6 separate regions of the Homo sapiens genome follow, and regions 1, 2, 3, 4 and 5 are each linked to region 6. Evidence: promoter capture Hi-C in 16 types of primary human blood cells and fetal thymus (Javierre and others, 2016). All regions are on one chromosome and are shown on one strand. The core of a region is centred on a gene start or on the middle of the fragment in contact, and the rest is flanking DNA. Distances in the headings are between cores, read along the strand shown.

The links. The method cuts DNA at HindIII sites, captures the fragments that hold promoters and counts their contacts. A CHiCAGO score of 5 or more calls a contact.
Region 1: a contact is called between a fragment that was not itself captured here and the fragment with the promoter of ZNF345 in region 6, in 3 of 17 cell types (naive CD4 T cells, total CD4 T cells and naive CD8 T cells). The highest score is 10.5, in naive CD4 T cells.
Region 2: the fragment with the promoter of ZNF329 here is called in contact with the fragment with the promoter of ZNF345 in region 6 in 6 of 17 cell types (non-activated CD4 T cells, total CD8 T cells, total CD4 T cells and 3 more); the score reaches 20.9 in non-activated CD4 T cells.
Region 3: a contact is called between a fragment that was not itself captured here and the fragment with the promoter of ZNF345 in region 6, in 2 of 17 cell types (non-activated CD4 T cells and naive CD4 T cells). The highest score is 16.4, in non-activated CD4 T cells.
Region 4: the fragment with the promoter of ZNF154 here is called in contact with the fragment with the promoter of ZNF345 in region 6 in 2 of 17 cell types (naive CD4 T cells and total CD4 T cells); the score reaches 7.6 in naive CD4 T cells.
Region 5: the fragment with the promoter of ZNF671 here is called in contact with the fragment with the promoter of ZNF345 in region 6 in 3 of 17 cell types (non-activated CD4 T cells, naive CD4 T cells and total CD4 T cells); the score reaches 15.4 in non-activated CD4 T cells.

The regions. Positions count from the first base shown.
Region 1 is chr19:57,236,322-57,241,014 of GRCh38, reverse strand. It overlaps ZNF805 (zinc finger protein 805), which reads right to left and starts at 383. Exons shown (of 4, transcript NM_001023563.4): 1 at 94-383. The coding sequence starts at 123. RefSeq lists a silencer at 86-155 and enhancers at 276-545, 566-785. The HindIII fragment of the contact is 1,631 bases long and covers 435-2,065 here.
Region 2 is chr19:58,147,406-58,152,166 of GRCh38, reverse strand. It overlaps ZNF329 (zinc finger protein 329), which reads left to right and starts at 1,378. Exons shown (of 4, transcript NM_024620.4): 1 at 1,378-1,415. RefSeq lists an enhancer at 1,242-1,301. The HindIII fragment of the contact is 7,703 bases long and covers 1-2,831 here.
Region 3 is chr19:57,765,200-57,769,604 of GRCh38, reverse strand. No RefSeq gene overlaps it. Among named protein-coding and RNA genes, the nearest start is that of ZNF586, 2.3 kb to the left of the region's middle. RefSeq lists an enhancer at 1-205. The HindIII fragment of the contact is 2,477 bases long and covers 12-2,488 here.
Region 4 is chr19:57,705,949-57,710,838 of GRCh38, reverse strand. It overlaps ZNF154 (zinc finger protein 154), which reads left to right and starts at 1,635. Exons shown (of 3, transcript NM_001085384.3): 1 at 1,635-1,900. The coding sequence starts at 1,868. RefSeq lists enhancers at 1,455-1,514, 1,535-1,664, 1,408-2,047. The HindIII fragment of the contact is 9,236 bases long and covers 1-4,890 here.
Region 5 is chr19:57,726,022-57,730,612 of GRCh38, reverse strand. It overlaps ZNF671 (zinc finger protein 671), which reads left to right and starts at 2,989. Exons shown (of 4, transcript NM_024833.3): 1 at 2,989-3,222. The coding sequence starts at 3,085. RefSeq lists enhancers at 2,643-2,692, 2,833-3,272, 2,790-3,290 and a silencer at 2,611-2,836. The HindIII fragment of the contact is 7,103 bases long and covers 2,246-4,591 here.
Region 6 is chr19:36,849,496-36,853,846 of GRCh38, reverse strand. It overlaps ZNF345 (zinc finger protein 345), which reads right to left and starts at 2,971. Exons shown (of 3, transcript NM_001242472.2): 1 at 2,879-2,971; 2 at 1,943-2,017. It also overlaps a transcript of ZNF790 not described here. RefSeq lists an enhancer at 3,209-3,448. The HindIII fragment of the contact is 2,588 bases long and covers 621-3,208 here.

The DNA.
Region 1 (4,693 bases), core at 1-2,500, about 20 Mb before region 6:
GAGGAATCCTGTGGCTGTCTTGGCTTCCGGCCTGCCCAGGAGGCTTCCCCGAACTAGCAGAAAAGCAGCAAGGCCGAAACCTTGTCCACTCACCTGCGCCGGGTCCGTCAAAGCCATCGCCATACCGGGACCCTGTGGCCCTAGCGGGGCGGGGGCTGCGGCGAGCAGGGCGGGTCTCGCGGGCTCAGCCGAGCCCCACCCCTTCCCTGCGCCGGGCCCGGTGACCTTGGCTGACAGTCAAACTCTCTCGTTACGGGGAGGCTCACGGTTCGCTCCGAGACGCGGAGGTCGCTGTCGGCCTCCTACCTGCTCATTTCCCCAGCGCCGCCAGGGAGGCGGCCACGGAACACCGCCCCCTCCCTAGAGCCGGCGTGGACGGAACCGTCGCTCCCAAATTACGTCCCATCCAAATGCCGGAAGTCCCGCCCCAAGCTTCGCAACCCACAGGAAACGCCCCTGTCCTGGACCATCATTGGCCCCAGGGCCCGCCGTCGCACCTGGCAATGCCTTGTAGTTAATGTAGTTTTTCTCTACAAACCACCTGCAAAGGGGACAGATCCTGAGCCGGCAGGCCTCGGTGTAAAAGTCGCAGCGGGCCTACAGCCCGGCTCAGACCTGCCTCTGTCCTGGGGGCACAACTCGGAGGCCAGGGACCAAGCGCGAGACCGTCCATTCTTGGCCGGAGGAAATCGAGCCCCAGGAGTCAGGGACATTTGCCAGGGTCAGGGCCAGTGCAGAGACCCTGGACCAGGCTCCGGACTCTGACTTCCACCTTGCATTATTTCCCCTCCGGATCCTCTTATACAGATCAGCGGGCAGTCAGAGTAACCAAAGGGGGACGTCGGGCGGCGCGATGCCTCAGGCCTGGGATCCCAGCGCATTGGGAGGCCAAGGGGGGCGGATCGCTTGAGCCCAGGAGCTCAAGACCAGCTTGAGCAACATAGGGAGACTACCAAAAAAAAAAAAAATTTTTTTAAAATAAGCTGAGTGTGCTGGCGCACACCTGTGGTCCCAGAAGTCTGTGGCAGGAGGATCGCTTGAGGACAGGAGTTTGAGAACAGTCTGGGCGACAGAGCGAGACCTCATTGGTACCAAAAAAAAAAAAAAAAGAAAAAGAAAAGAAAAAAAATAGAGCGCGGTGGCTCACGCCTGTAATCCCAGCACTTTGGGAGGCCGAGGCGGGTAGATCACGAGATCAGGAGATCGAGACCATCCTGGCTAACACGATGAAACCCCGTCTTTACTAAAAATGCAAAAAATTAGCCGGGCGTGGTGGCTGGCGCCTGTAGTCCCAGCTACTCGGGAGGCTGAGGCAGGAGAATGATGTGAACCCGGGAGGCGGAACTTGCAGTGAGCCGAGATCGCGCCACTGCACTCCAGCCTGGGCGACAGAGTGAGACTCCGTCTCTCTCTCTCTCTCTCTCTCTACTTATATATACATATATTTATATATACATATATACATATATACGTATATATACATATGTATATATACGTATATATATGCACATATATATTTATATATATATTTATATATATATTTTTTGAGACAGGGTCTCGCTCTGTTGCTCAGGCCATAGTGCAGTGGCGCGATCACAGCTCACTGCAGCCTCAAACTCCAGGGTTCAAGTGATCCTCCCACCTCAGCCACCCAAGTAGCTGGGACTGCAGGCACGCACCACCACGCCCAGCAAATTGAGGGTTTTTTTGTTTTGTTTTGTAGTTTTTGTAGTCAGTTTCACCATGCTGCCCAGGCTGGTCTTGAACTCCTGTGCTCAAGTGATCCACTCACCTTGGCCTCCCAAAGTGCTGGGATTACAGGCATGAGCCACAGCATCCAGCCTACTCAAAAAAAATTTTTAATTAGCTGAGCATTGTGGCACACCCCTGTAATTCCAGTTACTCAGGAGGCTGAGATGGGAGGATCTCTTGAGCCCAGGAGGTCGAGGCTGCAATGACCTGTAATTGCACCACTGCACTCCAGTCTGGGCAATAGAGCAAGACCCTGTCCAGCTGGGACATGTTGCAAATGCATTGTCTCTCTTGGGCCTTCTTTGGCCAAGCTTGGTCTTCACATGGTCCAGCAACTTTTGCTTTAGGTATTGGCTGAGAGCCCTGGTAGAGTAGATTTGACATTCCTTAACGTGGGGAGTCTTGGACTGGGTGAGCTCATGACTCCAACTTTAAGCATGATCAGTTTGAAATGTCTGTATGACCACAGAGTGTCTGTGTCACAGCAGTTCAATCTCTGACTGAATATTGGGAGAGAAGTTGTGCCTGGACATAAAAATCTGGAAGTTTTTGGCAAACACTGTTATTTCAAGTTATGATACTGGACAAGACCATGAAAAAAAATGAGCATAGATGGAGAAAGGAATGGAAAGAGGTGAACATTGTTAAACAAAAATTACAGGAGGCCATTGTTTTGGAGCTCCTACAGCAGGCCTCACTGACCAAATCAAAATGGCGTCTCTCATACTAAATGTCATCTAATCAAACTGAAGTTTTAAGGAAGCAGACAGATCCCAGTTTTTCCTAAAAGCAGATTTCAGTCTACCTGAATTAGTGAAATTAGGAAGTCCCCTCTGCTTTAACCCTTAGAAAAAGTAATCTGTTAACCAATCAGCTTTTTTTTCTATTGTTCTATTTTATTGTTCCCACCTTACAAAACCCACTGTTCTGCCATTGCCCAGTGGGAACTCTAATTTCTATTGTGTAGAACAGAGATTGCCTCAATTCATGAATCACAAACAAAAGTCAATTAGATCTAAAACTAAATTTGTTGTAATTTTGGCCTTTTGACAACCCTGAACTAACTGGTTGCAAACAAGAAAGCAACAAAGTCATGTTAGGGTCATAACAATCTTTTAAGAATTATACAGGCCGAGTGCAGTGGCTCACGGCTGTAATCCCAACACTTTGGGAGGTAAAGGCGGGTGGATCAGCTGAGGCCAGGTGTTTGAGACCAGCCTGGCCAACATGGTGAAACCCCGTCTCTACTAAAAATACAAAAATTAGCTGGGCATGGTGGCGGGTTCCTGTAATCCCAGCTACTTGGGAGGCTGAGGCAGGAGACTCGCTTGAATCTGGGAGGCGGAGACGGCAGTGGGCCGAGATCGGGCCAGAGAGCAAGATTCCGTCTCAAAAAAAAAAAATCATATTATACAAAACCTTTGTAGTCTCCGTTGGTGACTGTTTTTTTTCTTCTCATGACTATGAAGGTTAGAGAATAAAATCCAGCTTTCAATGATTTGACAATACATATGGTTATGAAAATGGAAACAAGGTGTGCAGAAAATGCCCTCCAGAGATTTGAAAGTGGAGAAAGTATCATGACAGGATGTTAACTGGGTGGAAATGTAGATGGAATCAATTTTCTAGAAGGTATTATTTGTAAAATGAGATTATTGAGAAATGTTGCTTAATTAGCGTGCAAGCTGTTGACACTGTTACTCATCATTGACAATACTAATTTGCCCAATTTAGAAGAGAGGAATAATTCTCCTTTCCATATGTGTATGACCCGTAGGGTTAAATTAGTTTTCGCTTTGGATGCAGAACAGATATTAAAGTTAGTATATTTATATTCCATCATGGAATGTCTGGAATCAGTGCTGCTGAAGAAAGCTATGTAGATATTGGTGACAATTTTTTTTTTTTGAGACAGAGTCTCACTTTGTTGCCCAGGCTGGAGTACAGTGGCGCAATGTCGGCTCCCTGCAACCTCCACCTCCCAGGTTCAAGTGATTCTCGTGCCTCAGCCTCGCAAGTAGCTGGGATTACAGCCACCATGGCCAGCTAATTTTTGTATTTTTCAGTCAAGACAGGTTTTTACCATGTTGGTCAGGCTGGTCTCGAACTCCTGACCTCACATGTTTATCTGCCTGCCTCAGCCTCCCAAATTGCTGGGATTACAGGTGTGAGCCACTACGCCCGGCCTGGGGACACTTTCAAATCCCTCATGTAAAGCATGACAGAGTTTTCATTATTTAAACATATATCATCTGGTGATCAGTGCTGAGGCCCTAGTGATTTTTCTATCCTTACCTGCCAAAAATGTGCCCAGTGATGTGTTTATCCAGCACCTAAAATGTGTAAGAGTTTATATGTGTGAACCAGTTAATTTATTAGGAATTGCCAAGTGTTTAAAATGTTAATTCAGGAAAACTGATAGGATGAAGCAAAGCATATAGAGGTAAGCACTGTGTCTCCCCATGCAGGTAAAAGAAAGAAAAAACAAAAAAGAGGTAAATACTGAAAGTGCAGGTTAAAAACCATGAACCAATGTCTTGGAGTATTTAACTTATAGATCTGCAATAGTGGGAGCTTTTCATCCAAGTGAAGTGGCTGAGTTATTTATGCTTACGTAGTGGGTCTGGTCATAGCAGAAATCATGCCTGCAACTGCTGGATATTTCACAATGAGGAGACTTTGTAGAATATAATGATAGGAGTAACATTAACAAGGCAAACTCCATATAAAGTGCTTAACAACTAAAGTTAGGAGAAATACTGGTGTAACTGACTGCATTGATCAAAAAACATTTGAGCTTACAGCTGAGGAGTCTAGATGCTTACTGTGGTAGTCAGTTTATAATGGGTGCAGGGAGCAGCTGCCACATGAAGCTGTCACAGAAGGTTACAGAAGGCTGGAAGGCCACTCCCCAAATTGCAGCATGCAGTAATTTCAGAAG
Region 2 (4,761 bases), core at 129-2,628, about 21 Mb before region 6:
GTCTGTTAATGAGGTTTTTGTATTTTCTTCATGAAGATCCTTTATTGCTTTTGCTAATTGATTTCCAAGTTGCTCCAACCATCACTATTGTGAGTGACAATTTAATCACTATTATGGCTTAGAATTTTTTTTCTAATTTTCATTTCAAAATTGTGAAGTATTTCAACCTGCGGAGAGGTTCGGAGAGTAATAGAATAATCTATAAATAATAAAGATGACACCCATGTATCATCGAGATTTTACCTGTGTTAACATGTAGTCAGATTTTCAGGTTTTGATTTGTTTTTTCCTATCAAGCATCACAGGTGTAACTGAGGTCTCCTTTGTCTCCTCCCCAACTCTTTCCCCTCAGTTGCCACTTTCTTGAGGTTGGACAATCTATCTGGTCCATGTTATTGTTACTTTACTACTTATGTATCAATCTCTGTATAACATATAGATTTTGTGTCTTTTATTTCCAGGTAAGTTGTATCATGTGGATAAGTGCACAGTTTACTTTTCGAACTGTTTTTGGAGAACTGTCTATCTTGTATATAAGTTAGTCCTTTTTTTTTTTTTTTTTTTTGAGACGAAGTCTCCCTCTTGTCCCCCAGGCTGGAGTGTGATGGTACGATCTCAGCTCACTGCAACCTCCGCCTCCCAGGTTCAAGTGATTCTCTTGCCTCAGCCTCCCGAGGAGCTGGGATTACAGGCGCCTGCCACCACGCCTAGCTAATTTTTGTATTTTTAGTGGAGACGGGGTTTCACCATGTTGGCCAGGCTGGTCTCAAACTCCTGACCTTAGGTGAGCCCAGTCCGTTTGTTTTAACCACCCCCTATTGCTCCGTTGCACATACCACAGTTTCTCTCTTCCCTGTCAGTAAATATTTAGGCTTCCCCATGCTAAAGTTTAAGAGAACCACTGAAAGAATGAAAATGTGTAGTTTTCATTTTCAACCGGCTATTGTTACTACAGAGGAAAGTTACTGGCTTTGTTTACATTTCTTAGATCTAGTCATTTTAACAAATTAGGCCTCCCAAAATGCTGGGATTACAGGCGTGAGCCACGCACCCAGTAAATAATTATATTGCCAATGAATAATGAGTGTACTTATTCTGAATTTTAACATTATTATCTCAAAAAAAGATTATAGATAAAGAAATATTTTAGGAAATTATGCAGTAAATAAAAGGAAGGCTCTATAACAAAAGAATGATAGCATCGGGTTAAAAATCAGAGGAGACCATAGGAGAAAGTAAATGCCTGCGCGTCCGCCCCGAGGCAAGTCCACGCCAGGGTAATGAATAACCCGGTACCCGCGGCCGCCCCAGCGTTGGGCGGGGGAAGCTCGGGGACTCCGCGCACGCGCACATCCTTGTCCCGGCAGCCGCGCAAGCGCAATCGCCCGGAACATGGCTGCCGCCGGCCGCCAACCGTAAGTGCCGACGCATCCCTGAGCCCTGCGCTGCCTCCGTTTCCTGCGGAGGGAAGTCTTGGCGGGTGGAGGTCCGCCGGGTCCTTGTGGGGCGGCGAGGGGCGCGTCCGCGGGTGGGTTTCACCTGGGTGGTGGGCATGTCGGGCCCGCTAGGGCGAGGGTCTGGCCAGGGGCGTAGTTCTCCTGGTGGGTGGGGACGCTCCGTGGCGATTGGGGTCACTCCTCTGAGGACGAGGTCGCTCCGGGGCTGGTCTGGACGCCCCCGCTCTTTCCTTAGCGTCACCCGTGAGTTCCGCGCTCGCATCTCTAGCCCGCCCTCCCATAGAGACTGTTTTGCCACGCCTGCTGGGTGTCCTGGTCCGTCTCCGGGGGTAACCCCCGAGTCTGCAGCTTTTCTGTCAGGTGTGAGGGGCAGTGTAGGCTTGGGTCGGCCTCCGGCTGAATTGGCGGCCGTGAGCCAGTGGGCTGAGCCGCTTCCCCTTGAGTCTCGAAGGTGTTAGATCACCTGTGTGTTTTTCCATTTGATATTTGCAAAATCATGTTTTACTGCAATTCTCAGTGAGGGCCGCATTTTTGCACGTGTTTAGTGACCATTTTGCTGTCTTTTCCCTTGGTTTAGTGGCATATTTCCTTTGTGCAGTCTTCCAGTCTCAATATTTTATGACATAAAATGTTGGTTTAGATAGAGAAGCTGAAAGACTTGTGCAGTGAACGACCCGGTTAACGTCTGCTGAACTTACTGTATCCCTTATCTTTCCTTCTGTCCATCCTTTCAGCCATTCATTAATCCACCTATTTTTGGAAACATTTCAAAGTAAGTTGCAGATATCACAACACTTCTCCCTCAAACACCTCACTATGCTTACCATGAATTAGAGTTCAGTAGTGCTTTTTTAAATTTTTTGAGCCAAAATTGACTTTCAGTGAAATGCACAGATATTCCCTGTACCATTGATGAATTTTGACAAATGCAACCTAAACCTTTATTAAAATTACCATCAGCCTGAAAAGGTCCTTTATTTTTTGCCAAGTTAAAAAATTTGGCTATAGGAACTTGGGCTTGTTGAAGTACGTTTTGAATACCCAGTTTTTGTCTGTTTTTTCTTTTTTCCCACAGCAAGTGACTTTCCTCCATTCTACTGCTTGTTTACCTCTCTCTTCACCCAACTTTTCATTTTGAAAAGTTCCGCATTTGCATAGAAGTTGCAGGAATAGTTTAACACTTCTAAAACCATCCAGATTCTAAAATTATTAACACTTTTTGCCACATTAGCTTTATCTTTATCTTCTCCCTGCCTGAGACACATGCATAGGTGTTACCAGAAAGGGGGTCCCGAGCTATAACCCAACAGAGGGTTCTTATATCTTGGGAAAGAAAATTCAGGGCGAGTCCATAGAGTAAAGTGAAAGCAAGCTTATTAAGAAAGTAAAGGAATAAAAAAATGGCTACTCCATAGATAGAGCAGCCCCAAGAACTGCTGGTCGCCCATTTTTATGGTTATTTCTTGATTATATGCTAAACAAGGGGTGGATTATTCATGCCTACCATTTTTAGGCCATATAGGGTAACTTCCTGATGTTTCCATGACATTTGTAAACTGTCATGGTGCTAGTGGGAGCAGGACCAGAGGTCACTCTCGTTGCCATCTTGGTTTTGGTGGGTTTTAGCCACCTTTACTGCAAGCTGTTTTATCAACAAGGTCTTTATGACCTGTATCTTGTGCAAATCTCCTGTGTTATCCTATGACCTAGAATGCCTTAACTGTCTGGAAATGCAGCCCAGTAGGTTTCAGCCTTATTTTACCCAGTCCCCATTTAAGATGGAGGTTTGCTTTGGTTCAAACGCCTCTGACATAGGGTTTTCTTTTTATATTTTACACACACTTGTACACACAGCAGGTGTTGCAGAGGCAGGTGTGATACAGACATATATTTACATACACTTAGTTTTTTTGGCTGAGTTACTGGAAGTATGTTATAGATATCATACCTCACTCTGAAATACTTCAGCCAGGATCTCATAAGAAAAGTAACGTTCTTATTTTTTAATTTTGTATTTTTTATAGAGATGAGATCTCACTATGTTGCCCAGACTGTTCTTGAACTCCTGGTCTTAAGCAGTCCTCCTGCCTTGGCCTCCCAAAGTGGTGGGATTACAGGTGTGAGCCACCACACCCAGCCAAAAAGAACATTTGAACATTTAAACAAAACTAGTGTTATTATCACACCCAAGTATACTTTTTTTTTTTCAAAAAACTAATTGTTTTTTATTTGTAATTTTTTTTTCCTGCCAATCTGAACCTGGAAAAGAAGAAACAGGGAAATTTTTTACCTTCCTCTCTTTTTTTTTTTTTTTTTTTAATTGATCATTCTTGGGTGTTTCTCGCAGAGGGGGATTTGGCAGGGTCATAGGACAATAGTGGAGGGGAGGTCAGCAGATAAATAAGTGAACAAAGGTCTCTGGTTTTCCTAGGCAGAGGACCCTGCGGCCTTCCGCGCAGTGTTTGTGTCCCTGGGTACTTGAGATTAGGGAGTGGTGATGACTCTTAAGGAGCATGCTGCCTTCAAGCATCTGTTTAACAAAGCACATCTTGCACCGCCCTTAATCCATTTAACCCTGAGTGGACACAGCACATGTTTCAGAGAGCACAGGGTTGGGGGTAAGGTCACAGATCAACAGGATCCCAAGGCAGAAGAATTTTTCTTAGTACAGAACAAAATGAAAAGTCTCCCATGTCTACTTTCTGCACAGACACGGCAACCATCCGATTTCTCAATCTTTTCCCCACCTTTCCCCCCTTTCTATTCCACAAAACCGCCATTGTCATCATGGCCCGTTCTCATTGAGCTGTTGGGTACACCTCCCAGACGGGGTGGTGGCTGGGCATAGGGGCTCCTCACTTCCCAGTAGGGGCGGCTGGGCAGAGGCGCCCCTCACCTCCCGGACGGGGCGGCTGGCCGGGTGGGGGGGCTGACCCCCCCCACCTCCCTCCCGGACGGGGCGGCTGGCCGGGCAGAGGGTCTCCTCACTTCCCAGTGGGGCAGCCGGGCAGAGGCGCCCCTCATCTCCCAGACAGGGCGGCTGGCCGGGCGGGGGGCTGGCCCCCCACCTCCCTCCTGGACGGGGCGTCTGGCCAGGCGGAGGGCTGACCCCCCCACCTCCCTCCCGGACGGGGCGGCTGGCCGGGCGGGGGGCTGACCCCCCCACCTCCCTCCCGGGCGGGGCGGCTGGCCGGGCAGAGGGGCTCCTCACTTCCCAGTAGGGGCGGCTGGGCAGAGGCGCCCCTCACCTCCCGGACGGGGCGGCTGGCCGGGCGGGGGGCTGGCCCCCCACCTCCCTCCTGGA
Region 3 (4,405 bases), core at 1-2,500, about 21 Mb before region 6:
TCTCTGAAGCTTCATTGGCTCAGCCACGTTACCATTTCGCAGGGCGGATTCTGGGTAATGTAGTTCCCAGACATGGGCAGCGCTTAAGGTGGCTTTCTTCCGACTTTCCGAAGAAAGGGGCAAGCTCCACTGCGAGGGGCGCTAGGAAATGGCGACTCCAGGTCCAGATGCGGAGGAGGGTCTCCCATCTTAGAAGAGGCCATACGCACATTTCTGGGGGTACTGTGTGCAACTGATTGCCCGCGTGTTTGGAGACTTCTTATTTCAGAATTTGTGATGCTCGGCTTCTTCCTTTTTTTTTTTTTTTTGTCTTTTTTTTAAGACATAGTTCTCTCTGTCACTCAGGCTGGGGTGCAGTGGTGTGATCTTGGCTCACTGCAGCCTATGCCTCCCGGGTTCAAGCGATTCTCGTGCCTCAACCATCCGAGTAGCTGGGATTACAGGCGTGTGCCACCATACCCTGCTAATTTTTGTATTTTTAGTAGAGACGGGGTTTCCTCATTTTGGCCAGGCTGGTCTCGAACTTCTGGCCTCAAGTGATCTGCCTGCAATGGTCTACCGAAGTGCTAGGATTACAGGCGTGAACCACCGTTCTCAGCCCATTAGCAACACTTTTATTTATATCTTTAACCTACAGATTCCTCTAGAAATCTGATATCAACATCAAAAAGCTAATGAGACAAATGCTATTATGTTACAGGACAATGGCTGCGGTGTTCAAACATGGAGTATGTATGCATGAGAGAAGAGAGAGACCCTCTCACATTGTTTTATATTCAGTAAAAACAACAAGGAAGTAAAACCAAAGACAGGCAACCCCGCGCCAGGCCCGAAACCAGGCCTAGGCCCGCCTGGCCTAAACCCAGTAGTTAAAAATCAACTTATGATTTAGAAGCCGATGTTATTCATAGATTCCTTAGATTGTATAGAAGAACATTGTGAAACTCCCTGCCCTGTTCTGTTCCTCCCTGACCACCGGTGCATGCAGCCCCTGTCACATACCCCTTGCTTGCTCAAATCAATCACGACCCTTTCATGTGAAATCTTTAGTGTTGTGAGCCCTTAAAAGGGACAGAAATTGTGCACTCCGGGAGCTCAGATTTTGAGACAGTAGCTGGCCAATGCTCCCAGCTGAATAAAGCCCTTCCTTCTGCAACTCGGTGTCTGAGAGGTTTTGTCTGCGGCTCGTCCTGCTACATGCACAGGGTGCTTTTACACTGAGATATTTCAAGTGCCTTAAATCCATGCGTTCACCTCTTTGCTGGCAAGTGCTTATCATTGTCAGTGGCATTGGAATCAGAGTGACTCCATCTTGAAAATGGGCTGGATAAAGTAAGGCTGAGAAATACTCGGCTGCATTCCCAGGTTAGGCATTCTTAGTCACAGGATGAGATAGGAGGTTGGCACAAGATGCAGGTCACAAAGACCCTGCTGATAAAACAGGATGCAGTAAAGAAGCTGGCTAAAACGCACCAAAACCAAGATGGTGATGAAAGTGACCTGTGGTCATCCTCACTGCTCATTATACGCTAATTATAATGCATTAGCATACTAACTCCCGCCAGCGCCATGACAGTATACCAATGCCCTGGCAATGTTTGGAAGTTACCCTATATAGTCTAAAAAGGGGAGGGAACCTCAGTTCTGGGAAATCTCCACCTCTTTTTTTTTTTTTTTTTTTGAGATGGAGTCTCGCTCTGTCACCCAGGCTGGAGTGCATTGCTGCGATCTCGGCTCACTGCAACCTCCGCCTCTTGGCCAAGTTCAAGTGATTTTCCTGTCTCAGCCCCCCGAGCAGCTGGGATTATAGGCGCCTGCCACCGCGCCCAACCTGTAAAATTTTCTATACTTAAAAAAAAAGTTGGCTGGGCGCGGTGGCTCACACCTGTAATCCCAGCACTTTGGGAGGCCGAGGCGGGCGGATCACGAGGTCAGGAGATCGAGACCATCCTGGCTAATATGATGAAACCCCGTCTCTACTAAAAATACAAAAAAATTAGCTGGGCGTGGTGGCAGGCGCCTGTAGTCCCAGCTACTCCGGAGCCTGAGGCAGGAGAATGGCTTGAACCCGGGAGGCGGAGGTTGCAGTGAGCCGAGATCACGCCACTGCACTCCAGGCTGGGGGACAGAGCGAGACTCCGTCTCAAACAAACAAACAAACAAACAAACAAAAAAGTTGGCCGGGTGCGGTGGCTCATGCCTGTAATCCCAGGACTTTGGGAGGCAGAGGTGGGCGGATCACGAGGTCAGGAATTCGAGACCAGCCTCACCAACATAGTGAAACCCCGTCTCTACTGAAAATAGAAAAATTAGCTGGGTGTGGTGGCGCATGCCTGTAATCCCAGCTACTCAGGAGGCTGAGGCAGGAGAATCACTTGAACCCAGGAGGCGGAGGCTGCAGTGAGCCAAGATCGCGCCACTGCACTCCAGCCGGGGTGACAGAGGACAGAGTGAGGCTCCGTTTCAAAAAAAAAAAAAAAAAAAAGCTTTCTTGGATTATGCTTTGTATAAATTAAATTGGATATTTAGTGTAAACTTTATTCAGTAATGGAGGTGAGGGTTTCCAGTAGTATTTCTTTCCCCAAACAATCATTTTCTCAGATTTCCCGTGAGTTGGCTCATAAACATGTTGTACCATAAGAAATTGAAATCTCAAAGGCAAGATGGGTCTCCTGTTGGGTCCACACCAAAATTTGTAAATGGGGGAAAAGCATTACCGCTTTGTTAGCCATATCTACTTTTTCTTATCTGAAGCCTCTTTTTGAATCCCTTGGAGTTCCTGTTCAATGGCACTTATTTTGAATGTAGTGACTTTTATAGTTTCATGTGATATTGGTGTCAAGAGAGTCTTTTTGCTGCTGCATCTGCGAAATAATTTTTTTTTACTCTTTGGAGAGGTGAGTTTGAATGTTCAGGAACGTTAATAAAACATTCTTTTTTGATAATCGGATGGCTTCTAAATGATCAGAAACTTGAGAGCCATGTTTAATTAGATATCTGGGGGAGGTTAAGTAACCTCACTGGCCAGGCACAGTGGCTCATGCCTGTAATCCTAGCACTTTGGGGGACAGTGGGGGGGTGGGGGGTGGGGGGGCGGATCATGAGGTCAGGAGTTCGAGACCAGCCTGACCAACATGGTGAAAACCTGTCTCTACTAAAAATACAAAAATTGGCCAGGCATGGTGGCTCATGCCTTTAATCCCAGCACTTTGGGAGGCCGAGGTGGGCAGATCATGAGGTCGGGAGATAGAGACCACGGTGAAACCCCGTCTGTACTAAAAATACAAAAAATTAGCTGGGCGCCGTGGCGGGTGCCTGTAGTCCCAGCTACTCGGGAGGCTGAGGCAGGAGAATGGCGTGAACCCGGGAGGCGGAGCTTGCAGTGAGCCGAGTTTGCGCCACTGCACTCCAGCCAGAGCGAGACTCCATCTAAAAAATAAATAAATAAATAAATTAGCCGGGGGTGGTGGCGAGCGCCTGTAATCCCAGCTACTCGGGAGGCTGAGGCAGGAGAATTGCTTGAACCCGGGAGGAGGAGGTTGCAGTGAGCCAAGATTGCACCACTACACTCCAGCCTGGGCAACAGAGCAAGCCTCTGTATCAAAAAAAAAAAGCCTGATTCCATAACATCCCAAGGTCATGAGCTACACCAATAGCATAATACCTTTAAGTATAAATATTATCCATTTGATTTTTGGCCAGTTGACAAACTGGTGAGTGCTGTTAATTCAGCTAGCTGTGCTGATTTTACTTGAGGCAAGTGATGGCTTTTTTTTTTTTTTGCTTTTTTTTTTGAGACAGAGTCTCCCTCTGTTGCCCAGGCTGGAGTGCAGTGGCGCAGTCTAGGCTCACTGCAACCTCTGCCTCCCAGGTTCAAGCGATTCTCCTGCCTCAGCCTCCCAAGTAACTGGGACTACAGGCGCCTGCCACCACACCCGGCTAATGTTTGTATTTTTAGTAGAGACGGGGTTTCACCATATTGGCCAGGCTGGTCTTGAACTCCTGAACTTGTGATCCGCCCGCCTCAGCCTCCCAAAGTGCTGGGATTACAGGCATGAGCCACCGCACCCGGTGGGATTGCTCTTTCTGATGTCCACAAGAGACACAAGGTTGTAGCCTGCTCAGTATTTTCAAAATGTATCCTTTAGATCCGATCCATCTGTGAACCAGATAATATCAACATTTTTACATGATGTGTCCTATAAATCCTGTCTGGACACCAATTCTGTGAGTAGAATACAGTGATGAAATATTTCATCTGTTGTTTCAGGAAGTTGCACTGCAGGATTAAGAGTATTACAGATAGAGAGGGCAGCATATGAAGCAGACAGTGTAAGTTTGTCATAAGAAACCAATCTATTAATGGAAAATTGCTGTGTATTATGTGAATTCAAAAGAGCTTCTA
Region 4 (4,890 bases), core at 386-2,885, about 21 Mb before region 6:
CGAGACCAGCCTGGCCAACATGGTGAAACCCCGTCTCTTCTAAAAATACAAAAATTAGCTGGGTGTCATGGCGTGCGCCTGTAGTCCCAGCTACTTGGGAGGCTGAGGCAAGATAATCGCTTGAACCCAGGAGGTGGAGAGGTTGCAGTGAAACAAGACTGCGTCATTGCACTCCAGCCTGGGCAATAAGAGTGAAACTCCATCTCAAAAAAAAAGAAAAAAAAAAAAGAAGAGATTTCTCACCTATATACCCTGAGTGTCTCTGCAGCCAGCAAAGCAGATGAAGGCCTGCTGGGTTGGAGCCCTAGGCCCTCCAATGCTGAAATGCCCTGTGAAGTCTCCATCCATCCAGGCACTCTAGTAACCTGCTTCTTCTGCCTGGAATTTATTCTAAAAATACCCACATGGCTCATTTCTCACTTCCTTCAAGTGCATTTCACCGGCTTTCTGATTAAGAAGTCCCACCTCTCCCCTTTGTCTCTTATCAAAGTAGCATTTCTTTCATTGTTTTTTGAGATTGATGTTAGACTTCTAGAAGGAATATATCTCAGATATCAAGTAAGAATTATGAAATGGATAAAAGCGTTGCTCAGTGAATTGGACACAGTTATTGACTGGACACAGTAATTGGACACAATAATTGACTATGCAGGCAAAAGATGTTTTCTGTTGGAATCAGACAGAATTCTACCTTTGTACTACTGTTTCAAGGTGATCTAACATTTCTCTTCTATCTTCTAGAAGCACTATCATGCCACTATCTGAAGTAGTTTTTCACCTGTCCCTGACCAAAAGTGCACAGACTGACTTCAATGCTTCGGAGTGCATACATTTGAAATGTAATATGATAGAGGCTGGGTACGGTGGCTTACGCCTGTAATCCCAGCACTTTGAGAGGCCGAGGCGGGCAGATCACCTGGGGCCAGGAATTTGGGACCACCATAGTGAAACCCTGTCTCTACTGAAAATACAAAAAATTAGCCTGGCGTGGTGGCGCGCGCCTATAGTCCCAGCTACTTGGAAGGTTGAGGCACGAGAATCGATTAACCCGGGAGGCGGAGGTTGCAGTGATCCCAGATGGCGCCGCTGCACTCCAGCCTGGGGGACAGAGGGAAACTTTGTCTTAAAAAAAAAAAAAAAGGAATAAACTTATATGGTAATGTTTATTAGCTTCCCTACTAGTGGATATATTTCGTGTCTGAATGGCTCTATGGAATGATGTACATATTTGGATTGGCAGCCTTAGGGAGCGTCTGATAATAATTTTAGCCTCTGGGAGCCTGCTGAACTTTATGAAGTTTGAAATAATATTCCCCAAACACTTGGGTGATCAGTTGCAGATGGCACCTCTAATATGCTGTCTGATTACGACCCATTTAAGAAAGGGCGAAGTCCCTCCACTGCCCTAGGACTTGGATAAGCCATTTCTCATCGCCCAGCGCCCTGGAGCTTCGCTTTTACTCCAAGAGGTTGGTGCAAAGGGTCCCCGGCACCCACCTCGGGATCTATGAAAACTACATTACCTAGAATGCTCTGCGTTGAACGCCACGCTACTAAGCCAGTAAGAGCTCAGAAAACCGACTTTCCTTGAGAGTCACAAAAAGAAAGGACGGGACTTTTGGGGGGGCCTCTTCGTGGCGGCCATTTTAGCTTCTCTGAGGTGTGTTCACCGGATCAGAGATAGCAGAGCGCCGAGTTGGGGCCACGAAGGCGTGAGGGGAGTCGTCGTCCCTCCTGCACGAAAGCGTCTAAGCCTTGGCGACGCCGCCCTGGGGGACCCACGTCAGGCCTGGGATAGGGACCGCTGTCCCCGGGTCCCTACCAATGTCGCCCGTCGCTCCCGGCCCAGCTCTACCCGCAGAGTCTGATGGCAGCGGCCACTCTGAGGACGCCAACTCAGGTGAGTGCGGCGTCTTCCCGTCCTCACACACCTTCCCCCACCCACGTTCTAAAGCCATCAGTGAGGGGCGCCTGCTCGAGTCCCCGCTGCCCAGGGTCGGGGACACTGAGGCGTTCGTGGGTGGGGCCCTTTTTTTGACACTGCGTGTGACGAGGTGTGGGAGAGCGTGACAGGCGGAGGAACCGGCGCGTGCAAAGGTTGAGGCGCGACTGAGCCAGGAGAATTCGGAAAGCTGTTTTCTGCAGGGAACGAAGAATATGAGGCGGAGTTACTCCTAGGGTTGTACTGTCATTGTGAGGATGCTAGAAGCCACGGAGAGTTCTGAACAAAGGAGGGACGCCATTTATGTTAGTTTTTTTTTCTTTGAGACGGAGTTTCGCTCTTATCGCCCAGGCTGGAGTGCAATGACGCGATCTCGGGTCACTGCAACCTCCGACTCCCGGGTTCAAGCGATTCTCCTGCCTCAGCCTCCCCAGCAGCTGGGATTACAAGCCTGCAGCTGGGATTACAACGTCCGGCTAATTTTTTGTATTTTTAGTAGAGACGGGATTTCACCATTTTGGCCAGACTGGTCTGGAACTCCTGACAAGTGATCCTCCTGCCTCGGCCTCCCAAAGTGCTGGGATTACAGGCGTGAGCCACCGTGCCCGCCCTATGTTAGGGTTTAAAAACTTTTCCAAAGACTGTTCACAGGAAGAGCAGCGATGGGGCGATGAGGACATTGAGATAGTGGGAGGCTACATCTTTTTTTCATTGCCCTACAGTTGGCAAGAGGTGACAGCACTGAGACCAGAAAGTAAAACAGCCAGCCTGAGTTCAGGGCCAGGCAGGGCTACAGGGAGGCTTGAGCTCATCTAGCCTCACCAGGGATGCATTCCTCTTTCCCTGGTTCTCCCAGTTGTAGAAGGGCGTATGGAACTCACATAGGGAAGTGGAGAGTGTTCGGTCCCTCAGTAGCCTCTACCCCCATGTTCTTGGGATTGTGGTTTCCTAGTATTCTTAAGTGCTGTTACCCCAATCCTGGGTCTGGTGCCCTGGAGAAATTCCAAGCCCAGGGCTCTTAAGTCCATGCCAGAGGTTACAGGGGTTATACTGAGGTGTTCCCATTTTTGTCAGCCAGTGGAAACTTGTGAAAGGTTATCTCTGGCACTGGTATCAGGAGGCGCAAGTGCTTAGTAAAACTAAGCTGAGATTTTTGAGGAAACCATAGATCTGTTTCCTTTTAGCTGGGAACAAAGAGCAGGGGGAAGGAGTCAGGACTGCAGTGGCTGCCTGAGAAGTTGGGTACCTATTCTGGAGGTAATGAGAGATTTGGGTTACAAGAGGGAGGTGATCTTACCAAAGTCCTAACAGGGTCCATCCCGTTAGCGTGGAGAGCAGACTGTGGGGTTGAGGGAAGAGGAAAGAAGATCAGAGTGGAAGCTACAGCCAGTCCAGGGTAATGGACCAGAGTCATTGATTAGGAGATGTGTTGCATTCTGGATGCAAATTTTTAAAGGGAGCAACTAAATTTTCTGATGTAGACAGCGAGGGAGTGAAACAGGATTCAGCGATGACCCCATGGTTCTTCAACTGAGATGGAGAAGTTGGTATTAACAGTAATATTCACTGGAGACAACAGGAGCTTTATTTGGTCATGTAAGAGTTTGAGATGTTTCAGAGACATTAAGTAGGCATTAAGTAGGTGGCTGAACACCCAGGTCTGGAAATCTGGGGAGTGCTTCAGAATGGAGACATCCAAAATGTGGTGGTCATTGTGTGGACTAAGGTGAGTGAGCTGTGGATTACATTTAGAAGGGTTGTTCTATTTTTTTTTTTTTTTTTTGAGATGGAGTGTCTCTCTTGTTGCCCAGGCCAGAGTGCAATGGCGCGAGCTTGGCTCACCACAACCTCCGCCTCCCGGCTTCAAGCAATTCTCCTGCCTCAGCCTCCCGAGTAGCTGGGATTACAGGCATGCGCCACCACGCCCGGCTAATTTTGTATTTATTTAGTAGAGACAGGGTTTCTCCATGTTGGTCAGGCTAGTCTTGAACTCCCAACCTCAGGTGATCCACCCGCCTCAGCCACCCAGAGTTCTGGGATTACAGGCGTAAGCCACCGCATCCGGCCTACAAGGGTTAATCTTTAGGCATGGTGGTACAGGTTATTTGGCCAGGAAGGGCAGAATGGGGGCTAAGGACCAAGCCTTTTGGTTGGATAAGTGGGTGATATTCTTGGGCTTTCTAAACAGAGGTAAGGGAGGTTAGTGGCTATGGAGGTAGGGTGTTTGGAGAGGATAGTTGGGCAGGTGGCATACACTTTCAAGGGAAGAGTGGATATAAGGTGGATGCAGAGGCATAGGTGTATTTGAGGCAAATGGCTGTCCTTTTTTTCCTTTGTGCTTATTCAGCACTCTGTGGAATCACCAGGATTTTTTGATGACTTTGATGGGGCCTAGGGTGTTTATTCAACCTGGAGGATAAGGCCAGGTGCCAATGTGGTCATCTGTGACAGTCACTTGGCCTGGGGTAGGTGATCAGTGGAGCTAGTCTTTGAGTGTTAAGTGGACAGAGGAAGGTTGTTACTGCTGAGGGGCTAGCAAGTGCAGCACGGAAGTGGAATAGGGCCATGGGTATCTGAGATGCACATGTGGTTCTGTGTGGCCTAAATCTGAGGCAAAGAATGGAGCCAGCCAGGGAGCCCTCATAGGATTTGGGGCTGCTACCACTAGTGGATGCCCTGGGAGATCTAGGGTAGTATTAGATCCGTTTGAATCTGTCGAGCATACTCTGGACGCTGTGTGCTAAGTTATGGTGTAAAGTCTAAAATTAAGGCCCAGTATGACATCTGGTGAAATCAGGGTGGCATCAAATGGCCTGAGTACAAGTTTCCCTCCCTACTCTTCTCCCAAACAGACAACCCTTTTAATCAAGGAGACCAGGCACAATTTCTGCCTATCACTTTGTAGCAGATTTCAGCTCCCTACCAGGTCATGGAGTTTTCCAAACAAG
Region 5 (4,591 bases), core at 1,740-4,239, about 21 Mb before region 6:
TCTGTGGGATGGGTGCTGTTATCCCCTTTGTCTTTTTTTATTGCATCTATTTGATTCTTCTCTCTTTTCTTCTTTATTAGTCGTGCTAGTGGTCTATCAATTTTGTTGATCTTTTCAAAAAACCAGCTCCTGGATTCATTGATTTTTTGAAGGGTTTTTTGTGTCTCTATTTCCTTCAGTTCTGCTCTGATCTTAGTTATTTCTTGCCTTCTGCTAGCTTTTGAATGTGTTTGCTCTTGCTTCTCTAGTTCTTTTAATTGGATGTTAGGGTGTCAATTTTAGATCTTTCCTGCTTTCTCTGGTGGGCATTTAGTGCTATAAATTTCCCTCTACACACTGCTTTGGACGTGTCCCAGGATTGTGGTATGTTGTGTCTTTGTTATCGTTGGTTTCAAAGAACATCTTTATTTCTGCCTTCATTTCGTTATGTACCTAGTAGTCATTCAGGAGCAGGTTGTTCAGTTTCCATGTAGTTAAGTGGTTTTGAATGAGTTTCTTAATCCTGAGTTCTAGTTTGATTGCACTGTGGTCTGAGAGACAGTTTGTTATAATTTCTGTTCTTTTACATTTGCGGAGGAGTGCTTTACTTCCAACTATGTGGTCAATTTTGGAATAGGTGTAGTGTGGTGCTGAAAAAAAATGTATATTCTGTTGATTTGGGGTGGAGAGTTCTGTAGATGTCTATTAGGTCCGCTTGGTGCAGAGCTGAGTTCAATTCCTCGATATCCTTGTTAACTTTCTGTCTTGTTGATCCGTCTAATGTTGACAGTGGGGTGTTAAAGTCTCCCATTATTATTGTGTGGGAGTTTAAGTCTCTTTGTAGGTCACTAAGGACTCGCTTTATGAATCTGGGTGCTCCCGTATTGGGTGCATATATATTTAGGATAGTTAGTTCTTCTTGTTGAATTGATCCCTTTACCATTATGTAATGGCCTTCTTTGTCTCTTTTGATCTTTGTTGGTTTAAAGTCTGTTTTATCCGAGAGTAGTATTGCAACCCCTGCCTTTTTTTGTTTTCCATTTGCTTGGTAGATCTTCCTCCATCCCTTTATTTTGAGCCTATGTGTGTCTCTGCATGTGAGATGGGTTTCCTGAATACAGCACACAGATGGGTCTTGACTGTTTATCCAATTTGCCAGTCTGTGCCTTTTAATTGGAGCATTGAGCCCATTTACATTTAAGGTTAGTATTGTTATGTGTGAATTTGATCCTGTCATTATGATGTTAGCTGGTTATTTTGCTCATTAGTTGATGCAGTTTCTTCCTAGCCTTGATGGTCTTTACAATTTGGCATGTTTTTGCAGTGGCTGGTACCAGTTGTTCCTTTCCATGTTTAGTGCTTCCTTCAGGAGCTCTTTTAGGGCAGGCCTGGTGGTGACAAAATCTCTCAGCATTTGCTTGTCTGTAAAGTATTTTATTTCTCCTTCACTTATGAAGCTTAGTTTGGCTGGATATGAAATTCCGGGTTGAAAATTCTTTTCTTTAAGACTGTTGCCTTCTTTAGAATATTTATTTAGGGTATTGTGACAAAGTCAAAAGGTGATGCAGGACAAAAATCATTATATGCAGGACATGTCCTGTATGTATAGGAATCTTGGAAATTTTATTAGTGATGTCTTTCATGCTACTAACACATTTGAAAAACACCTACTGAGAGCTCGTATGTGTTCCTTGGATGTGTATTTTAACAGTGAATTATCAAGACAGCACAACTTCACTGTTGATTTTTACCATTCTGATATCTTCTTTACAATTGCTCAGCATTTTCAGGAAAAAAGAGTCACATTTTGTTGACAAAGTGTGGTCAAGATCACAACACAACCATATGCTTAACTTCATTCTTTCACTTATACTTTAGTATTCAGGCTCAAACTTTACTGAGATCTTAACTTTGTCCATCTATCACAGATATTTCCTTAGAGCAATTTCTTTCATTATCTTCAAATAACTACGGAATCATTATTAATAGCTGTCAGGATTTTTCCCCCGGGGATAATCTCACCTCCTAACACAGACACCATACTTACAATGACAATGACAGGTTAAATGGTAATTGCACTGTGTTTTGCTGTGATGGAGACATCACTGATTACCCAGGCAGGAAGAGTTTTCTGAAGAAATCTGTCCACTGGTTTCAGGGAGACTCCACATCATCCCTCTTCCTTCTTCCACTCCAAGGCCTTGTTTGGAATATTTTCTCTTCCGTCTCTGACCAAACTGAAGCTCACAAAAGTTACTGTAAAGCTTGAGTGCACACATATTTAAAAAGCAACAAGGTAATAGTTATTAGCTTCTAGCTGTGAGTGTACGCAAAGAGACATTGTGGTGTGGTGTATCTATTTAGTTTTGCAGCTTTGGGGAACATCTGAAATGTCTCAACATTTCTGCGATCGGTGCATACTACACTCCAGGGAATCTAGGTCCAGGCCTTTTAAGAGGACAGAAGTCAGCCGGGCACCATGGCTCACTCCTGTAATCCCAGCACTTTGGGAGGCCGAAGCAGGCAAATCACAAAGTCAGGAGTTCGAGACCAGCCTGGCCAACATGGTGAAATCCCGTACTCTGCTAAAAGTACTAAAATTAGCCTGGCGTGGTGGCGGGCCCCTGTAGTCCCAATTACTTGGGAGGCTGAGGCAGGAGAATCGCTTGAACCCGGGAGGCGGAGGTTGCAGTCAGCCGAGATCGCGCCACTGCACTGCAGCCTGGGAGACAGAGCGAGACTCTGTCTCAAAAAAAAAAAAAAAAAAAAAAAAGAGGACGGAAGTCCTGTCAGCCCTTTGAAACTCGGGTTACTTTTCCCAAACAACTTGGCCCTCCTACTTCGAGTTTTCCCAAGAGCCCAGGCCGAGAATCCCCTGCCTTGAAGGATAGCTCAGTGGGAACCACACTCTACCCACAAACCTATACGTTGCATACCCAATGAGGGCCCAGGAGAGGGGTGTTTCAGTGCCTGCGGGGGGTGCGTGGGCGGGACTTCCGGCTCCTCCTTGTAGCGGACATTTTGTTTCTGTCAGGCTGTCCCTGGCCGGGGTTCTGTAACGCTTGTGTGGGCCGCAGGTGGAGGTGTTGGGAAAGCGCGGAGGAGATGTTGTCCCCAGTGTCCCGAGACGCGTCTGATGCTCTGCAGGGACGGAAGTGCCTGCGTCCCCGATCGAGACGCCTGCCGCTCCCGGCAGCTGTCCGCGCCCACGGTCCTATGGCGGAGCTAACGGACTCCGCGCGGGTGGGTGCTGCGTCCTCCGGGCCCTCAGTCACCCTTTCTCCGACTCCGAATCGTAAAGTGCCTGCAGCCCCTGTGTCCCAGGACAGCGACGCACTCTTGGGGCGGGGTCCTATCTCGGTGTGGGTGGGTGTGGGAGAGTTACGGGCGGAGGGGACGGCGCAGGTAAAGGCTCGGGGGTGCTGCTGACCCCCAAACATTTGGGAGACAGGGTTCTCATCAACACAGAGCAGAGTTTGAGGAACTGTGACTGGAATGGCAGGCTGAGAAGTTGTCGCTTCATTCTGAGGGCGTTGAGATTAACTGAGGGTTTTGAATAGAAGGACGTGATCTTAGCTGGGATTTTAAGTGTCTCGAAATTTGCTCAGGGGAGAACATTAGTTTGGGGTGGGGACTGCGAGGATGGATACGAGGAGACCGGTAAGGAGGCTACTGCAGTGGATTCCAGGAATGCTTTGGTGGTGGATGTACCAAGAGTAATGGCAGGTGAGTGGGTAGAAGTGATCATATTCTGGGTAGGTTTTAAATTTGAAACCAACAGGATTTTCTGCTCCATCATATGCAGCTATGACTGAAAGTAAGGCATGAAAGAGCAAGGTGTTTTTGTTGTTTTTCCATGAACGTTTGGATTTTGGAATGGTGACTTTGAGATGTCTCAGAGTGGAGGCTTCCTCACTTAGGCAACTAGAGAGGAAGGTCTGAAGTTGTGGGGAAGGGGCTGGGCTTAGAATATCTTTGGGGTGAAGGGAGCGGTCTGGAGTAGGTCAAGGCCAGGAGGTCAGATTTAAGTGGGGCAGTCTTAAGTATGTTATTTCATATCTCTGGGGTAAGAGATGAGAAGGCTGGGACTGCAGGGCAGGGAAGAGGGAGTGGGCATTCTTGAGACTCCCCCCAGAAGAGAAGGGTCCTGCCATTTGAAAGGGTTCTTTTCAGTGTTTGCAGGAGGAGAGAGCTGTAGGGTATGAGGAGTTTGGCCTGGGATGGCAACGATGGGTGGTGTGCTATTGCTACTATCTGATTATCTCACCCTCATTTTGTGTGTTTTCTTTTAGTTTTAGTTTATTTATTTTTTTTATTTTTTTTGAGACGAAGTCTCACTCTGTCGCCCAGGGTGGGATGCAGTGGCTTATTGCAACCTCTACCTCCCGGGTTCAAGAGATTCTCCCGCCTCAGCCTCCCAAGTAGTTGAGATTACAGGTGCCCACAACCACCCCTGGCTAATTTTAGTATTTATAGTAGAGACGGGGGTGGGGAGGTGGGAGGGGTGGGGTGGGGTGGGGAGGTGGGAGGGGTGGGGTGGGGGCGGGGGAGTGGGGGGGACGTTCACCGTGTTGGCCCAGGTGGTCTTGAACTCCCGACCTCAACTGATCCA
Region 6 (4,351 bases), core at 1,722-4,221:
AAGAAGGTAAGTGTACTTGCTCCAAATACAAAGTTACAGTGAGTAAGACAGTATGTTATTACTGCGAGGAGTGACAAATAGACCAGTGGAACAGAATCCAGAAATAGACATAGACATATATGTTCACTTGATTTTTTTACTAAAATGGCACTGCATATCAGTGCAGAAAATATGAACTTTCCAATAAATGATACTATAATAACTGGATACACACTCGGGAGAAAAATGAAATTCAATCCTACCCTATAAAAATTCCAGGTGGTGTAAAGACCTAAACATTAAAGCCTACCCTAGAAAGCTTTCGGCTTGGCCAGGTGCGGTGGCTTATGCCTGTAATCCCAGCACTTTGGAAGGCTGAGGTAGGCAGATCACCTAGTTCCAGGCCAGCCTGACCAACATGGAGAAACCCTGTCTCTACTAAAAATACAAAATTAGCCAGGTATGGTGGTGCATGCCTGTAATCCCAGCTACTTGGGAGGCTGAGGCAGGACAATCACTTGAACCCAAGAGGCGGAGGTTGTGGTGAGCCGAGATCATGCCATTGCACTCCAGCCTGGGCAATAAGAGCGAAACTTCGAGTCAAAAAAAAAAAAAAAAAAAAGAAAGAAAGAAAGCAAGCTTTTGGCTTTAAGACCAAAGAAAATCTTCATTATCTTGAGGTAGACAAAAATTTCTTAAACAAGACTAACCATAGGAAATGATTTTATTACAATGAAATCCAGAACTTCTATTTGTCAAAAGGCACCACATAGAGTGAAAAGTCAAACCAGAGCAGGTGAAAATACTTATCACACATACAACTGAAAAAAGATTAATTTACAGAAGATATATACACATATGTACAACTGCCGTAAATCAGAGAAAAACCCAATTAAAAATTGGTCAAATATTTGAACAACACCTTATAAAAGGGGACATTCAACTGCACTCCAGCCTGGGCAATAGAGACTCAGTCTCAAAAAAAAAAAACAAAAAAAACAAAAAAGGGGACATTCAAATGGCCAAGAATCAATGCTCAACTTTATTAGCAATAAAGGAAATTTAAATTAAATATAACATTAGACACCCACCAGATTGGCAAAAATTTAAGAGTTTTATGATGTCTAGCATGGATGTGGAGCTAAGAAAACTCTTGTAAACTGCTGGCATAAGTACAGTATCTTTAGAGAACAGTTTGGCAATGTTTGGTAAAACTGAAGATGTACAAACCCTACCTATTAGCACTTTTTTTTTTTTTTTTTGAGATGGAGTCTCACTCTGTCACCAGGCTGGAGGGCAGTGGCACAATCTTGGCTCACTGCAACCTCTGCCTCCCGGGTTCAAGCGATTCTCCTCAGCCTCCCAAGTAGCTGGGACTACAGGCGCGTGCCACCACGCCCAGCTAATTTTTGTGTTTTTAGTAGAGACGGGGTTTCCTCATGTTGGCCAGGATGATCTTGATCTCTTGACCTCGTGATCCGCCCGCCTTGGCCCCCCAAAGTGCTGGGATTACAGGCATGAGCCACTGCATCCAGCCACTATCAGCAATTTAATCACTAGGTATATATTCTAAAGAAATGCAAGCAAATGTGTACCAAAATATGCGCACAAAATGATCATAGTCACACTGCCTGTAGTAGCCAAAAATTACAAGACAAATGTCCATCAAGAGTAGAAGGATAAGGCCGGGCACAGCAGCTCACGCCTGTAATTCTGTCTCAAAAAAAAAAAAAAAAAAAGAAAGAAAGAAAAAAAAAAGAAAAAGAAAAATTAAAACCATCTGACAAATCAGTAAGGGAAAATCAGGTGTGGGAGGTGGGGTTTGAAGACACCACATTTTCTCAAAATGGAAACTCCAGGGATCAGGTCATCTCATAGGCAAGAATTTTCAAGAGAAGGAAAGCAACTATGTCCTGACAAAGAAAAAGGGATTTTTCTTAAACAAGAGGACAGGACAAGCTACCTTGCAGGTGCCTTGTGGATGTTCAACAGCCATTCTTTACTCCTGTTCGGAGGCCTCTATCCAAGCAGGGCAGGGCTGAGGAAGGAGAAAGCAGTCAGGAAACATCAGGTTCTTCTGAGAGGGAGTTGGTTTGACTATGTCAGAAGTTATCTTTGCTCAGCCCCTACTGCCCATCACCTACAGAGGAAGGTCAGAGAAGTCTAGGGCATCCTGCTTAATCCGGGCATCACAGACAACGGTAGGGTCAATGCCGTTCTGGGCAGAACCTGTCCCTGAGCTCACAGGGGTCTCCAATGGCTGAAGTCACAAAGACAAAGACTCCCCATACCTACATTGGCTATACGGACACATAGTCACACAAACTCACTCACACCGCAGGGACATAAACGTCACAGGCACCCCAAACCTAAACACAACACACAATCACACACTCATACACACCACGGGGGTAGACACGGACACAACCACAGAGTCCGTGGGCATCTCTCAAATTCCCAGTGACATACACCTTGGGGTCACAATGACAACAAATTCACACGCACCCTCCATCAACAATATCACCAACGCGCGCGCACACACACACACGGAAGCAGCCACAAACCTCAAAATTAAGGCATACTACACACAGTTCGGCAAATGGTAGTAAACACACACACACACACCCCAAGGGGACATACAGTCACAACCGCGGTCCAGGAACCTCACACTCGCAAACACAGTGCCCAACCCGGTCACAATTAAACTCTACTCACACCCGCACAAACATAAACAAAAAGTCCTCCTCCCCGCCCTCACAGTTCCATACACGGTCGCACAGACACACGCCCCCAGTCACAACCGTACACACTCCTCACAATCGCTCCTTAGCCTGTTCCCCACGCAGCCCACACAGGTCGGGAGTTCCTGTCGCGCCAGGCTCCGAGCCGCCTCACTTACGCCTGTTCGGATAGGGTCAGCTCCGTTCTACTAGAATCCACACAAGTCGACCCTAGCTATCTCACAAAGCCCCAAGGCCGCTTGCCCAAATCCGCGGGAAGATCCCGCCCACTCCTCAAGAGACAATCTAGTTATCGCGGGAGAGTGCCCTGGGCCTAGAGGCTTCTGGGAAGTGTAGTCCAGAAAGCGACAGGTTGCCGAAAGCTACAGCCCAGCCATCCCGATTCCCCTGGCGCGGACTCTGGCACCAACAAAACTATCTCTTTGAGGTGAGCTGCCCATCGGAGCCTTCCGGGAGTCTCACCTGACAAGGAGTCCCTAGACCAAGCTTTAGTCAGGCTCCTCTGAGCCCTTTTTGCTTGGCCAGGCCTCCTCCATAGCCTGCGAACAGCACTTCAGCAAGAATCCAGCTAAGCCAGTTTAGTAACAATCCCCCCACTCTTGATACTTAACTTCCTCTTAGTAATTTAGCATCCTTTAACTCCTTCACCCAGCCCGTTAGCTATAAATCTCCAGCTGCTGTTGTATTGGAAGTTGACTATTGCAATAGTCTTTAACCAAGTCCTTCTTGCCTGTTTAAGTCCTCTGGGGCAAGCTTTCTTTCACCCCGCCCAGCCTCAGAGGGCGGCTCCCGGGCTTCCGCCCCTCCTCGGGAGACATACTGGACCGCAGGGTCTCCTGGGAAACGTAGTCCAAGCCTCGCCGGGGATAGATGGGCCCAACTAAAGTGTGCTGCGTTCTCTGGGTCCTGAGGCGGCAGTCTGGCCGCAGTGACCAGACTAACTGTGCCCCGGAGGCTGCTTGGAATTCCACTTAACGCTGGAAGCACGCAGACGCTCTTGAGGCGGGCAGCTGCGTAGCGTGTGGAGGAGCCGGGAGAGCGCACCCCAATGTGGCACCTGAGCGTCTGGGACCGAACCAGCATGGGGAGTCGGAAGGGGACAAATCCGCGATCCCAGTCATGCATGTGAGACTGGGCAAAGGAAGGCTCGAGTGTGTGTGAGACCGCGGTGGGCCTGCTTGTGCTGGTGGGATGAGGGGTGTCTGGGTAGTTGAGTGAAAGAAACCGCGTGCGGGTCAGATTGGTGTGTGTGTGAGAGAAGTGAGGTCAAGATGTGTGCAGCTTTGGGCGTGGGGAGGTCATATTGAGTGTGTGGAGGTGGGGGGGGCAAGATCGTGTATGGATCTGTGTATGAGTGTGTGTAATCACCTGAATGTGGGTCACTGCGTGGGTAGCTGATACTATGACTGTGGAGGAATCTGAACCTCCAAGTCTCATTTTCTCTTTAAATTGTGATAACAAGGTTGTATCTTCCTGGTGCAGCAGTTTTAAAGGGGGGAAGCTCCATTACTGATATAATAAAATAGCATTTTTTATGTAAACATTTAACATTCAGACATTTCTTCTGAACTAGAGTACAAAATCAGTTATGAGTACTCCAAGTAGTTTAAAAAAGAAACCCGTCATAATAG